3 separate regions of the Homo sapiens genome follow, and regions 2 and 3 are each linked to region 1. The links are contacts of gene promoters, found by promoter capture Hi-C in blood cells and fetal thymus (Javierre and others, 2016). All regions are on one chromosome and are shown on one strand. Each heading gives the region's core, a stretch centred on a gene start or on the middle of the fragment in contact. The rest is flanking DNA. Distances are from core to core; before and after follow the strand shown.

What was found. Contacts are between HindIII fragments. The CHiCAGO score rates a contact against its expected background, and 5 or more counts as called.
Region 2: a contact is called between a fragment that was not itself captured here and the fragment with the promoter of IFT52 in region 1, in 3 of 17 cell types (M2 macrophages, naive CD8 T cells and fetal thymus). The highest score is 6.9, in M2 macrophages.
Region 3: the fragment with the promoter of JPH2 here is called in contact with the fragment with the promoter of IFT52 in region 1 in 4 of 17 cell types (M2 macrophages, M0 macrophages, naive CD8 T cells and 1 more); the score reaches 7.3 in M2 macrophages.

Annotation. Positions count from the first base shown.
Region 1 is chr20:43,589,273-43,593,263 of GRCh38, reverse strand. It overlaps IFT52 (intraflagellar transport 52), which reads right to left and starts at 2,327. Exons shown (of 14, transcript NM_016004.5): 1 at 2,210-2,327. RefSeq lists an enhancer at 2,136-2,205. The HindIII fragment of the contact is 15,646 bases long and covers 1-3,991 here.
Region 2 is chr20:44,103,399-44,107,345 of GRCh38, reverse strand. It overlaps JPH2 (junctophilin 2), which reads left to right. Exons shown (of 6, transcript NM_020433.5): 6 at 1-756. Among named protein-coding and RNA genes, the nearest start is that of JPH2, 82 kb to the left of the region's middle. The HindIII fragment of the contact is 5,238 bases long and covers 1-3,947 here.
Region 3 is chr20:44,184,526-44,188,633 of GRCh38, reverse strand. It overlaps JPH2 (junctophilin 2), which reads left to right and starts at 1,446. Exons shown (of 6, transcript NM_020433.5): 1 at 1,446-2,307. The coding sequence starts at 1,929. The HindIII fragment of the contact is 12,085 bases long and covers 1-4,108 here.

The DNA of each region.
Region 1 (3,991 bases), core at 1,078-3,577:
CCTCATTACTGTTTTAATTTCCACTTTGAAGTTAGTGAGATAGTTGTCTCTTGCTATAGATTTTTGCCACTTGTATTTCTTCTGATTTTCTTGTCCAGGTACTCTTGATCATTTTTCTCTTTAAATTTTTCTTTTTAAAAACTTCTTCTTATTATTATTATTTGAGATAAAAGTCCCACTCTGTGACCCAGGCTGGGAGTGCAGTGCTGCAATCACAACTCACTGTAGCCTTGACCTCCCAGGCTCAAGCAATCATCCCACTTCAACCTCATGGGTAGCTGGGACTACAGGCGCGCACCAGTGTCCAGCTAATTTTTAAATTTTTTGTAGAAGCAAGGTCTCGCTATGTTGCCCTTGAACTCCTGACCTCAAGTGATCCTCCTACCTCAACCTCCCAAAGTGCTGGTTTACTGGCATGAGCCACTGCACCCAGTCGGGTTTCATAATTTTCTAATTGATCATTAAACAAACATTTTCATAAGTTTATTTGGCTTCTGGTAGTTTTTTTGGTTTGGTTGAATTTTGCAGGCCATATAGATTTTAAATTTTATAGAGTTAAAAGTATGAATCTTTTCCTTCCTGGCTTCTGGATGACATGAAACACTTAGAAGAGTTTTTTGTCATTCTAAGATTATAAATAAATTCAACAATGCTTTACTTCAGTACTTCATGATGTAATTTTTTTTTTTTTTTGAGAGAGTCTGCTCTGTGGCCTAAGCTGGAGTGCAGTGGCACGATCTCGGCTCACCACAACCTCTGCCTCCCAGATTCAAGAGATTCTCGTGCCTCAGCCTCCCAAGCGGCTGGGACTACAGGCGCCCAAACACACCCGGCTAATTCGTGATGTAATTTTTTAACATTTAAATTTTAGTCCATTTGGAAATTATTGTGGTGCTCAAAATGGGCTTCATTCCTTTTTTTTTTCCTTCTTTTTCAAAGCATAGTCTTGCTCTGTCACCCAGGCTGGAGTGCAGTGGTGCAATCTCGGCTCGCTGCAACCTCCGCCTCCCAAGTTCAAGCAATTCTCCTGCCTCAGCCTCCCCAGTAGCTGGGATTACAGGCGCGCGCCATAGTAGAGACGGTGTTTCACCAGGTTGGCCAGGCTGGTCTGGAACTCCTGACCTCAAGTGATCCACCCGCTTTGGCCTCCCAAAGTGCTGGGATTACAGGTGTGAGCCACCTCGCTCGACTGGTTTAATTATTTTCTAAATTGCTAAAAAAGCTGCCTGACCCCAATTCATCTCTTCAATGCTGATTTGAAATACAGTACCACCTCGCCTATATAATAAATCCCTATATATAAATCGCTCTTATTCTGAGTTCTAATATATTTTATCTACCTGTAAGCTCCTGCTGAGTCCCAAACTTTTTAAATTAATTTATTTATTTTCAGAGACAGGGTTTCCTTTTGATACCCATGCTGGTCTCTGACTCCTGGGCTCAAGGGATCCTGCCGCCTCAGCCTACCAAGTAGCCAGGACTACGGGCCCACACTGCTGCACCCATCTTCTATGCTAGTTTAATTGCTATACCTTTATGTTATAATATCTGGTGGTTCTGGAGAGCTAATCTCCCTTATTAGCATTAATTTTAGAATTTTCCTGGCTACTTTCACATATTTATCCTTCTTTAAGCACTTTAACATCATTTTGTCCAGTTGAAAAACTGCCCCCTCCATGGTCCCACCACCGTGATACATCTATCTTTTTTTGTTCTGTTAGTTCAGCCCCTGGTGAGAGTAGCAGGTCTGCGTTCCTGTACTGTCAGACTTAGCCAGAAATGCATTTCCTTAATAATAGTATAAGGCCTTTAAAACTATAAAAATAACAAATATTTGGGTAACGCTGCCAAACCATTCTCTCGCTTTCTCTTCAATAACATTACCAGTCAAATCAGTATTTTCCCACATGAATACCGAGGGGTCGCAGCCACGACAGAAGAGAGATTAAGACTGTACGATTCCTCGTCCCATGCTCTTTCATAGTCAGCGGAACGACTAAACACCTGCACCACCCGAGGCCGTGGAGATGGGCGCCCAGCCGGGGCGCCAGGAACCCGGGCTACGTCCGCGCCCACAGTTTACTTCACCCCGGGGGACCCTGGATGTTCTATGACCGGCCCAGCGGCCTCGAAGAGTGCGGCGAGTCCCTCGCCAGCTCCCAGGCCGCACCAACGCCCCAGCCGGCCCACCACTGTTGGCGCCCTTTACCTGAGGCCCAGCGACCACCGCTCACCTGACGCCGCCCAGCATCCCGCGGCCAGGTATCCAAGGCCGCTTAGTAACCGGAGAGGCGCGTCGGTGCGCCGGGAGGCGTGGCCCAGGACGCAGCGCTAGCTCCGGCCGACGTGATGACGACAGCACGGAAGGCGCCTCTCCGTCGCAGGCGTCAGGGGTAGGCAGCCTGACTGATGTGGGGCTGTACCATTTGGTGCATGAGGGGCAAATCCAAACATAAGGAGAATTAACTTTTCACCAAAAATAAACCCATTTAATTTTGTTCTTTAGTATCAATTACGAGTAAAGACTAATAACAACGGTAGGACCCAAGTGCCCAAACTTCGCTCCACCCACAGGGAGGAGAATAGTGAAGGCTTCCAGCGCGGGGGGGTTGGAGAACGCCCCAGCTTCGATTCCCAAAGCGCAGGAGCAGAGTGGAGCCAGGCGAGGGCGGGGCCGGGCGGAAGGCTGTGCTGGACTATTAGGAACTACTTAACGGAAAAGGGTGCGCAGGTTTAGTGTTGAGAATGATAAACCGTATAATTCTGTTTTATTAACTCCGCATCTTTGCTTGCCATGGTACTAGGCTTGAGCGCCGGCGAGCATGGCGGGGAGTTAGAACTTGAATAGATTCTACAAAAATGTGAAAACTATGAACTGTATTAGGGAGTCTAACGACTAAGCTGGTCAAAAAGGCGCCCCTGTTGAGCAGAGATTTGAAGAGAGAGTGGTATTCATTAAGGCAAAGGCTGGGGAAGGGCGTTCCCGGCAGAAAGAACTGCTTGTGCAAAAGCACCACCAATACAGGTTGCCCTGCCATCGCCATTAAGATGGGAAACCAGAAGCCTGCAACTACCAACAGGCCACCCGACTACCCAGGAAAGCGCTCTGTGCCTGCCTTTAGAGGTGTGTGGATTTGTGAACAACGCTGCAGCAGCCTGGAAGACCCAAACTGAAGATTGCAGAGAGCTCTGACAGTTTTTATTTACATTTATGTTTGTCTTCGAATCTAGGATATTAAAACACATACAACTCGTGTTGCTTTCCACAATTTCTGTCACTGGAAATTTTAAAAGTGGAGACGGGCCGGGCGCAGCGGCTCTCTCCTGTAATCCCAGCACTTTGGGAGGCCGAGGCAGGTGGATCTCTTTAGCCCAGGAGTTTGAGGCCAGCCTAGGCAACATGGCGAAACCCGGTATCTACTAAAAATAGGAAAAATTACCTGGGCGTGGTGGCGCGCGCCTGTAGTCCCAGCTGCTTGGGAGACTGAGGTGGGAGGATTGATTGATTGATCCTAGGAGGTTGAGGCTGCAGTGAGCCGTCATGGTGCCGCCGCACTCTAGCCTAGGCAACACAGTGAGACCTTGTCTCAAAAAGAAAGTGGAGAACAGGGTGATTTGAGAATTCTCTTTGGTCAGATGAAGTGGCTTCTGCCTGTAATCCCAGCATTTTGGGAGGCCAAGGTGGGAGGACTGCTTGAGGCCAGGAGTCTGGGACCTGGGTAACAGTAACACCTTTTCTCTCCAATAATAATAGTAATAATAAATAAAAAAAGAAAATTAGCCAGGCATGGTGGCACACACCTGTAGTCTTAGCTACTTGGGAGGCTGAGGTGGGAAGATCGCTGGAACCCAGGAGTTCGGGCTGCAGTGAGCCATGATCGCTCCACTGCACCCCAGCCTGGGCAACAGAGTGAGACTCTGTCTCTTAAAAAAAAAAAGTTCTCTTCTTGGGGATGCTGTATTTTGGTGCAGAATTGGGTGAATACAGTTT
Region 2 (3,947 bases), core at 1,023-3,522, 510 kb before region 1:
TAAACAGACAAGACAGTACAGCCTGTAGTACCATCCCCATTGTCCCACTTAGGTCTCGGGGCAGAGTAGACATTCAGTGAGTGCTTATTGAGGAAATGGATATGGTGGCCATAAGAGGCAGTATGGTTGGGGAGTGGGGATGGGTTGGGGCTTTGGAATTGGACAGACCTAGTTTCTAATCCTGGCTATATCACTTCTTTGCTGTATGTGGAAGATGCCATCACTGATTGGATTCTGCAGGAGCAGACACTGAGAGTCACCTAAGCTGCAAGATGTTTATTAGGGATCAAAACCTGTGAAAGGAAGGAGGAAAATGCAGAACAGGGCAGAGGAAGAAGTCTAACTTGATGCAGGCCTGACAAAGTCCAACCCAGTGGGAGCTCCAGAGCAAGGATTGCTTGTAGAGCATCTCCCATTGGGCTTTTATACCCCTCCCTTGCTCTGTTACTGGGTGATATGGTTTGGCTGTGTTCTCACCCAAATCTCATCTTAAATTCCCACCCACACGTTGTGGGAGGGACCCAGTGGGAGGTAATTGAATCATGGGGGCAAGCCTTTCCCGTGCCGTTCTCGTGGTAGTGAATAAGTCTCATGAGATCGATGATTTTAAAAAGAGGAGTTACTCTGCACAAGTTCCTCTCTTTGCCTGCTGCCATCTAGTAAGATGTGACTTGCTCCTCCTTGTCTTCCACCATGATTGTGAGGCTTCCCTAGCCACTTGGAACTGTGAGTCCCATTAAACCTTTCTTTTATAAATTGCCCAGTCTCAGGTATGTCTTTATCAGCAGCATGAAAACGAACTAATAAACTGGGTATGGGCTGCTCTGGGAAGGGCATGACCTTGGGTGAGACAGCTCTCTGAAGCTGGGGCAGACCCTGAAGGAACTGACAACTGGAAGTTGTCTGCTGACCACACTTCCCACTGCAGAGAAGCAAGTCCTTCTTGAAGGGATAAATGCATGATGCTTCTCTTTCTCTACCACATACCCAACAGCCATTCCTAACCCTGCTCCTATCTCTGCCTCCACTACAGAGGCGTGAGCAAAACTCATGATCAAAACTCATTTCCTAGCTTCCTTTGCATCTAGGAGTAGCCTTGTGATCCAGGAGACGTAATTGTCCACGAAACATAAGGGAAAGCTCACTTGGGGTTTCCTGAGAAAGACTTTCTTCTATGATAAAAGAAGAGATGAAAGCAAACAAAGTCTCTCTTGCTACCTTGGCTTTCCCCCTTATTCTTGCTTTTGGATGCAGGTTGGGGGTCGTGGGTGCTGATGCTTGGAGCTGTGGCAGCCATTTCACAACCATGAAAGGAAGGTCAAGAGAATTGCCAAGATGCCAACCCAGTTGATTCTGAAGCTACTGAATCAACTCTTGAACCATCTACAACCAGACTTCTTGTTAAGTAAACAATAACTGTTCTCAAGATTTAAGCCCCTCTTCATCAGGTTTTTTGTTACTTGGGGCCAAACACATTCTAACTGTTAAAATGTATGATCCAGGGCAGGTTACACAATGTCTCTTAAACTTCATGCTTTTGTTGAGATCTTTCTGACACACCAAAGCTCTTCCCATACCCCAGATGCTTCTCTACACAGGAGGTTTCCTGGCAGAGCATGGGTATGTGTGTGGGAATGGGGGAGTGGTGGATGAGGGGGGTGCAATTAATGTGGCCTTTGTACAGAGCCCATTACAAATGGGTGGGATTGGTTATGTGCACAAGGTGGTTTTTAGGTATGTGGATGAGGGGAAAAGGAGATCCCTGAGCCTCATCAGAAATATAAAAAGAAATTATAACATCATTTGAGATACATGAAAGTTAAGCAGAAAAGGGAGAGTGGAATGAAATTCTCAAAAAAGAAAGCAAGTGTAGTAGTGCAATATTGCTGTGATAATACTGCATGACAAGCAACCCTCACGATAACAACCATTTTTTTTCTTGCTCATAGATCTGTGGGTTGACTGTGTTGGCTCTGCTTCAGGCTAAGGGAAAGGTTCAGGTTTCCTCCAGTTGTTTCTCATGTTGGGACCAGTGCCAACGGAGCATGTTTATCTTACGGTGGATGGCAGAAGTGCAGGAATGAAAGCCTCTGCTCCTATCATGTCTGCTTAGATCCTATTGGCCAAATCAAGTCCCATGCCTGAGCCCAACAACAGTGGTGTGGGGGAAGTAAACTCTTCCAAATCTAGAGGCAGGTACTTACCACAAAAAAGTGGACATATGATTTCTTTTCTTTGAGACAGGGTCTTACTCTGTTGCCCAAGCTGGAGTGCAGTGTTACATCATAGCTCTTTGCAGCCTCAAATTCCTGGGCTCAAACTGTTCTCCCACCTCAGTCTCCCAAAGTGCTGCGATTACAGGCATGAGTCACCACACCTGGCCGTATTATTCTTTTATACGGAGTGAAGAATTGGGAATAAAATCCCAATCTACCACCGCAGGAGAAGTCACAGAGAAAAATACAGTCAGAGGAGGGGGTTCCTATGAGTGTCCAGTCTCCAGCCATGATGACATTATCCCTTCAGACTACCTGATCCTTTTGGGCTGCACTGATACTCACCAAGGACCCTCCCTCCAACTCCACTCATTATTTCATTTCACAAGTTCAGTTTTTTCCCCATGTTCTCTTCTTTCCTCATCTTTTCTTCCCCCCAATCCTATCTAATATCAGCCAGTAGAATTATCTTTCTTAGTATCTACTTGGATTGGGTCCCTATATCCAGGTAGAGACAGTGAGAAAAGCTAGTGATTACTCTTTTCTTAGACATGAACACCTGGACATTCCCCAGTTGGTGGTTTAACTTCTCCCTCTTTGTTCCTCCATTTATTTTTTAAAATATTTAAGGAAGTCAATGACTTACAGAACCTTTCATGGGCACTTGGATTAAAGAGATACAAGAGGCATAGTCCTTATACTCCAGGAAAGAAGACCTGGAATGTCTTACCTGATGGCCTGGCATTAAACATGCCAGGACAGAGGGATGTGCAGGAGGCTGTGAAAATACACAAAAGCATTGTGAGTTTGGAAGAGAGGGAATGGAGAGGACTCTGATTTTACCCCTACCTATCCTTCCAGGATGATTCCTGGCACACAGCTCTCTGTCTCAGACCCGTTAAATACAATTATTAGTGTGGTTATTGTTTATCTGCCTTTGCCAGTAGGCTGTAAACTCCGTGCACTTAGGGATGTGCCTATTTTGTTCATTTTTGTTGTCTTAGTCCTTTTGGGCTTCTGTAACACAATACCACAGCCTGGGTACCTTATAAACAACAATTTATTTCTCATGGTTTGGGAGTCTGAGAAGTCCAAGATCAAGGCACCAACAGATGTGATATCTGGGGAGGGACTGCTTTCTGGCTCTCAGATGGCACCTTCGCTCTGTGTCCTCACATGGTGGAAGGGGCAAGGCAGCTCTCTGTGGCCCCTTTCATAAGGGCACTAATCCCATTAATGAGGGTGAAACCCTCATGACCTAAGCACTCCCAAAAGCCCCACCTCCTAATATTGTCACATTGGCAATGAGGCTTCAACATATGAGTTTGAGGGGGACAGCAGCATTCAAACCATAGCACCTGGATTCCCAGGTTGTTACACAGCTCATTAATGGCTCATAATTGGCACCACTATGTTGTAAAAACTATTTTTTCCTGATTTCAATAAGAGTGAAAAGATCTCAAGGTGGTAGAAGGTAAGTGGCAGTACTTAACTTTCACAGACAAGGTGAGTGCAAGTTCTGTATGGGCAACGTGAACCAATAGCAATCAGAAGGTTTGACATGCAGGGATTTTTACCAGGAGCTAATCAATCCTGGTATCCTTGGGGAGATGAAATAGCTGGACCATCTGCTAAAGTATTACTGGACAAACTGTAGGTTTGATAGGCAAAAGTCTAACTTGAGTCACTGCAAAAGAAAGCCACGGCTTCATACCTAGTTCCCAGACCTAA
Region 3 (4,108 bases), core at 197-2,696, 600 kb before region 1:
TGTCCCCATCTTCACACACACACTCACACACACACACTCACACATGGAAACACACACACTCTTACCACACACACATACAAACACACACACTCTTACCACACACACTCACACAAACACACACTTACCACACACACACAAACACACACACTCTTACCACACACACTCACATACACTCACACACACTCTCTCACACTCTCACAGACACACGTTCACACACACGCACAGACACACACACACACAGATCTTCCTAGTCTTGGTGGCTCTTACCTTTCCCAGAATTCCTCTATACTCCCATTAACCTTGGGCTTAGCTGGGATTTACAATCATTAGCTCTGGCCACAGCTTCTTGCCATGGAGATTTATTTGTTCTTTTTACTGGAGTTTGGTGGGAACCTGAGTGGCTGGGAATCCACCCAGGCCCTTCTCTCCTGGCCCTGCCCCAAGAGCTTTCTGAAGTCTGGCCTCACAGGCTCCTAGGACACTAGAGCAAAAGACAGCTCAGAAAGGGAAATTTTAAAAAATCATGACCCTTGAGAATTTCTGAGAGGACCTCATTACAACACAACCCTGTGTTGACAGGAAGGGGACTCCTTTGACCTTCAGGGTCTGCTGGGTCTGCGGCAGGGGGCAGGGAGGGCGCCGAGGCATCAAGGGGTGGGGAGAGGAAGCTAGCGGGACGCCCAGTCTGTGTCTCAGGCAGAGAGGAGGGCAGGCTCCTCTCCCTTCTCTTTGCCCTTCAGGAGAAAGAGAAAGGGAATAGATGGTTGCTTCTTGCACCAAGTTCTCCCCGGCTTCCAGGGGTGGAGGGAGCTCAGGGTGGTGAGTGAGCACTGGACTGAGATTCTGTGTATCTTCCAGACCCTGTTTCCACAGCCTCCCCTCTCTTTCTGACTTCCCTCCTCTGCTTTCGGAAGCACATGTGAAACTGTCTCCATTCCTTTCTCTTTAGGTCACTGGATTCCTTGATGGGGCTGGCAGTGGTGCTGTAACCCCAGGTCCCCTTAGGGCATGTGAGTGGTGATGGGGCTGAGATCTGCCAACCTCCTCGCTCTGGGGGATTTTCAGTGTTCCAGGACTGGGTGTTCTGCTGGTCTCCCTCTCCCCTCCCTTCCCCGATTCCCCGGTGCCCTCCCTGCGCGCAGACCCAGGGGACTCTGAGAATGGAAGGGAGCTCTCATTCCCGGGAGGAAAAGACACCAGGTTCCCTGGGCTGCCTGCACTCAGTTCTCAGCCTCCTTCCTCATGCCTCCAGCCACTGCCCGGGTCTGCGGCACGGGCGCGATTTGAAATACCCCTCCTTCCCGCTTTGAAGAAGGCTGGGCTGGCTGGGGGTTATTTTGGGAGCAGCTTCTGAGATCCAATGGCCTTGTTAGGGCAACACTGACCTTTCCGTCCCAGAAGGAGGGCAGGATTGGAGAAGGGGGCGGGGCAGCGGCGGGGAGACCGACAGCCCCGCACACCCACTGGGGTGGAGAAGGGGGCCAGCGGGCTGCGGGAATTCAGCCTCCGGCGGGGGCTGCCACCGAGGGGAATTTCCCCTCTTTGAAAAGGCTGGGGACCCCTCCACCCCACCCTTTCACTGGGCTTCTTAAAGAGATCACACCGTTTTCCCTTGGACTTCTTGGAAGGCAGACTTGGGACGCTTTGTGGGGACTTTGAACCTTTCCTTCCTGCTTTCTTTCCAGCAGGCAGCCTTGCTCTGGCTGGTGGAGTCGGGGCTCCCGGGCATGGCACTGACTAGCCGACCCGGTGCTGACTTGGCGCCGGGGCTCTTTCAGCCTCTGCTGGCATCCTGCTTCCCCCCTCCTGGGGTGCAGTGGTGAGTCTGGGGGCCTGCCCCCGAGGGCACTGGAGGAGTGTTGCAGGCATCACCCACGCCCTCTGCACCCACGCTGGAGGACGGGGAGGTTGTCAGGGGCTATGATGAGATGAGTGGGGGCCGCTTCGACTTTGATGATGGAGGGGCGTACTGCGGGGGCTGGGAGGGGGGAAAGGCCCATGGGCATGGACTGTGCACAGGCCCCAAGGGCCAGGGCGAATACTCTGGCTCCTGGAACTTTGGCTTTGAGGTGGCAGGTGTCTACACCTGGCCCAGCGGAAACACCTTTGAGGGATACTGGAGCCAGGGCAAACGGCATGGGCTGGGCATAGAGACCAAGGGGCGCTGGCTCTACAAGGGCGAGTGGACACATGGCTTCAAGGGACGCTACGGAATCCGGCAGAGCTCAAGCAGCGGTGCCAAGTATGAGGGCACCTGGAACAATGGCCTGCAAGACGGCTATGGCACCGAGACCTATGCTGATGGAGGTGAGGCCAGCTGGGGGCCCGCAGAGGTGGGGTGGAGCCAGGGAGGGTGAGAAACCCTGGTGGAGGGTGGGAAAGGCGACCGGCAATTGGCACAGAATCAGATGGGCTAGGAAGTGATTTGCTGTGTGGTTTTGGGCAAGCTGCTCTACCTTTCTGAGCTTCCATTTTCTTGTAGTAAAGATGGAGCTAATAAAGGGGTTATTGAGAGGATTAGTGGCAGTGCTTAGTACAAAGCCTGCCATGTAAGTGCACACTCAACACACAATAAAATATAACTACTACCATTAGCATGTTCGGTATGCCCCAACATAAACAGCCATGGAATATACTCTAGCAGAATTAGGGTCTAGTCTTAACTTTGCCATGAAAATTATTTTCAAGCAATAGATCATGAGGAGTATTCATCCACCCACCCATCCATCCATCCACCCATCCAACTATCCACTCATCATCTATCCACACACCAATCCACCCACCCGTCCATCCATCCATTCATCCATCCACCCACCTGCCTGCCCATCCATCCATCTACCCACCCACGCATTCATGCTTCCACCCAACCATTCATCTACCCATCCAGCCATTCATACATCTACCTGCCCATCCACCCATCCATCTTTCCATCCATCCATCCATCCATCCATCCATCCATCCATCTATGATCCATCCATGGATTCTTTTTTTTTTTTTCCAAGACAAGTTCTCGTTCTGTTGCCCAGGCTGGAGTGTTGTGGCATGATCTCGGCTCTTTGCAGCCTTGATCTCCCAGGATCAAGTGGTCCACCAACCTCAGCTTCCCTAGTAATTGGGACTACAGGTGTGCACCACCATGCCTGGCTAATTTTTGTATTATTATTTTTTTTTTTGTAGAGACAGGGCTTTTCCATATTGCCCAGACTGGTCTCAAACTTCGGAGCTCAAGCAATCTGCCTGTCTCGGCCTCCCAAATTGCTGGGATTACAGGTGTGGGACACTGTGCCGGGCCTACATTCCTTTTGTGTTTCCTTTTTTAAATTTTTTAAAGATAGGTCTTGCTTTGTTGCTCAGGCTGAAGTGCGGTGGCACAATCACAGCTCACTGCAACCTTGAACTCCTGGGCTCAAGCAATCCTCCCATCTTGGCCTCCTGAGTAGCTGGAACTACAAGGCACATGCCACCAAGCCTAGCTAATTAATTGTTTTTTCTTTTTTTGTAGAGATGGGGTCTTACTATGTGGCCCAGGCTGGTCTCAAACTCCTGGGCTCAAGCAATTCTTGGACTCCGTGGCTCACGCCTGTAATCTCAGCACTTTGGGAAGCTGTGGTGGGAGGATCACTTGAGGCCAGGAGTTCAACACCAGCCTGGGCAATCTAGCAAGATCCCCATTTTTACAAAACGAAAAATCGAAAAACAAAGATAGGCATGCAGACAAACAGTTATACACATTATACACAAGTATGTACAGATACTGTTGCAGAAAGGAGAATTTAGATTTGAGGAGGTCAGGAAATACTTTAAATGGAGCTGACGCCTGAGCTTGGTCTCGACAGGACAGTTACGTTTGTGAGGGTGGGCATGGGGCAGAGAGAAGAGTGAAGACAAAGGCTCAGAAGCATGAGGGTAGCAGTGGGTTAAAGAATCAGAGAGGAGTTTTCTGTGGCAAAACAGCCCTGTGGAGTGGCAGAGCAGATGTCATTACCTAGTCCACAGGGTGTACATGGACATATCACTTAGCTAAGCCAGTTTCCTCATCTGTGAAAAGGGACACTTTAGAATATCAGTACTGCTCAAAATGTGGACGGTGGACGGGCAGCATCAGCAC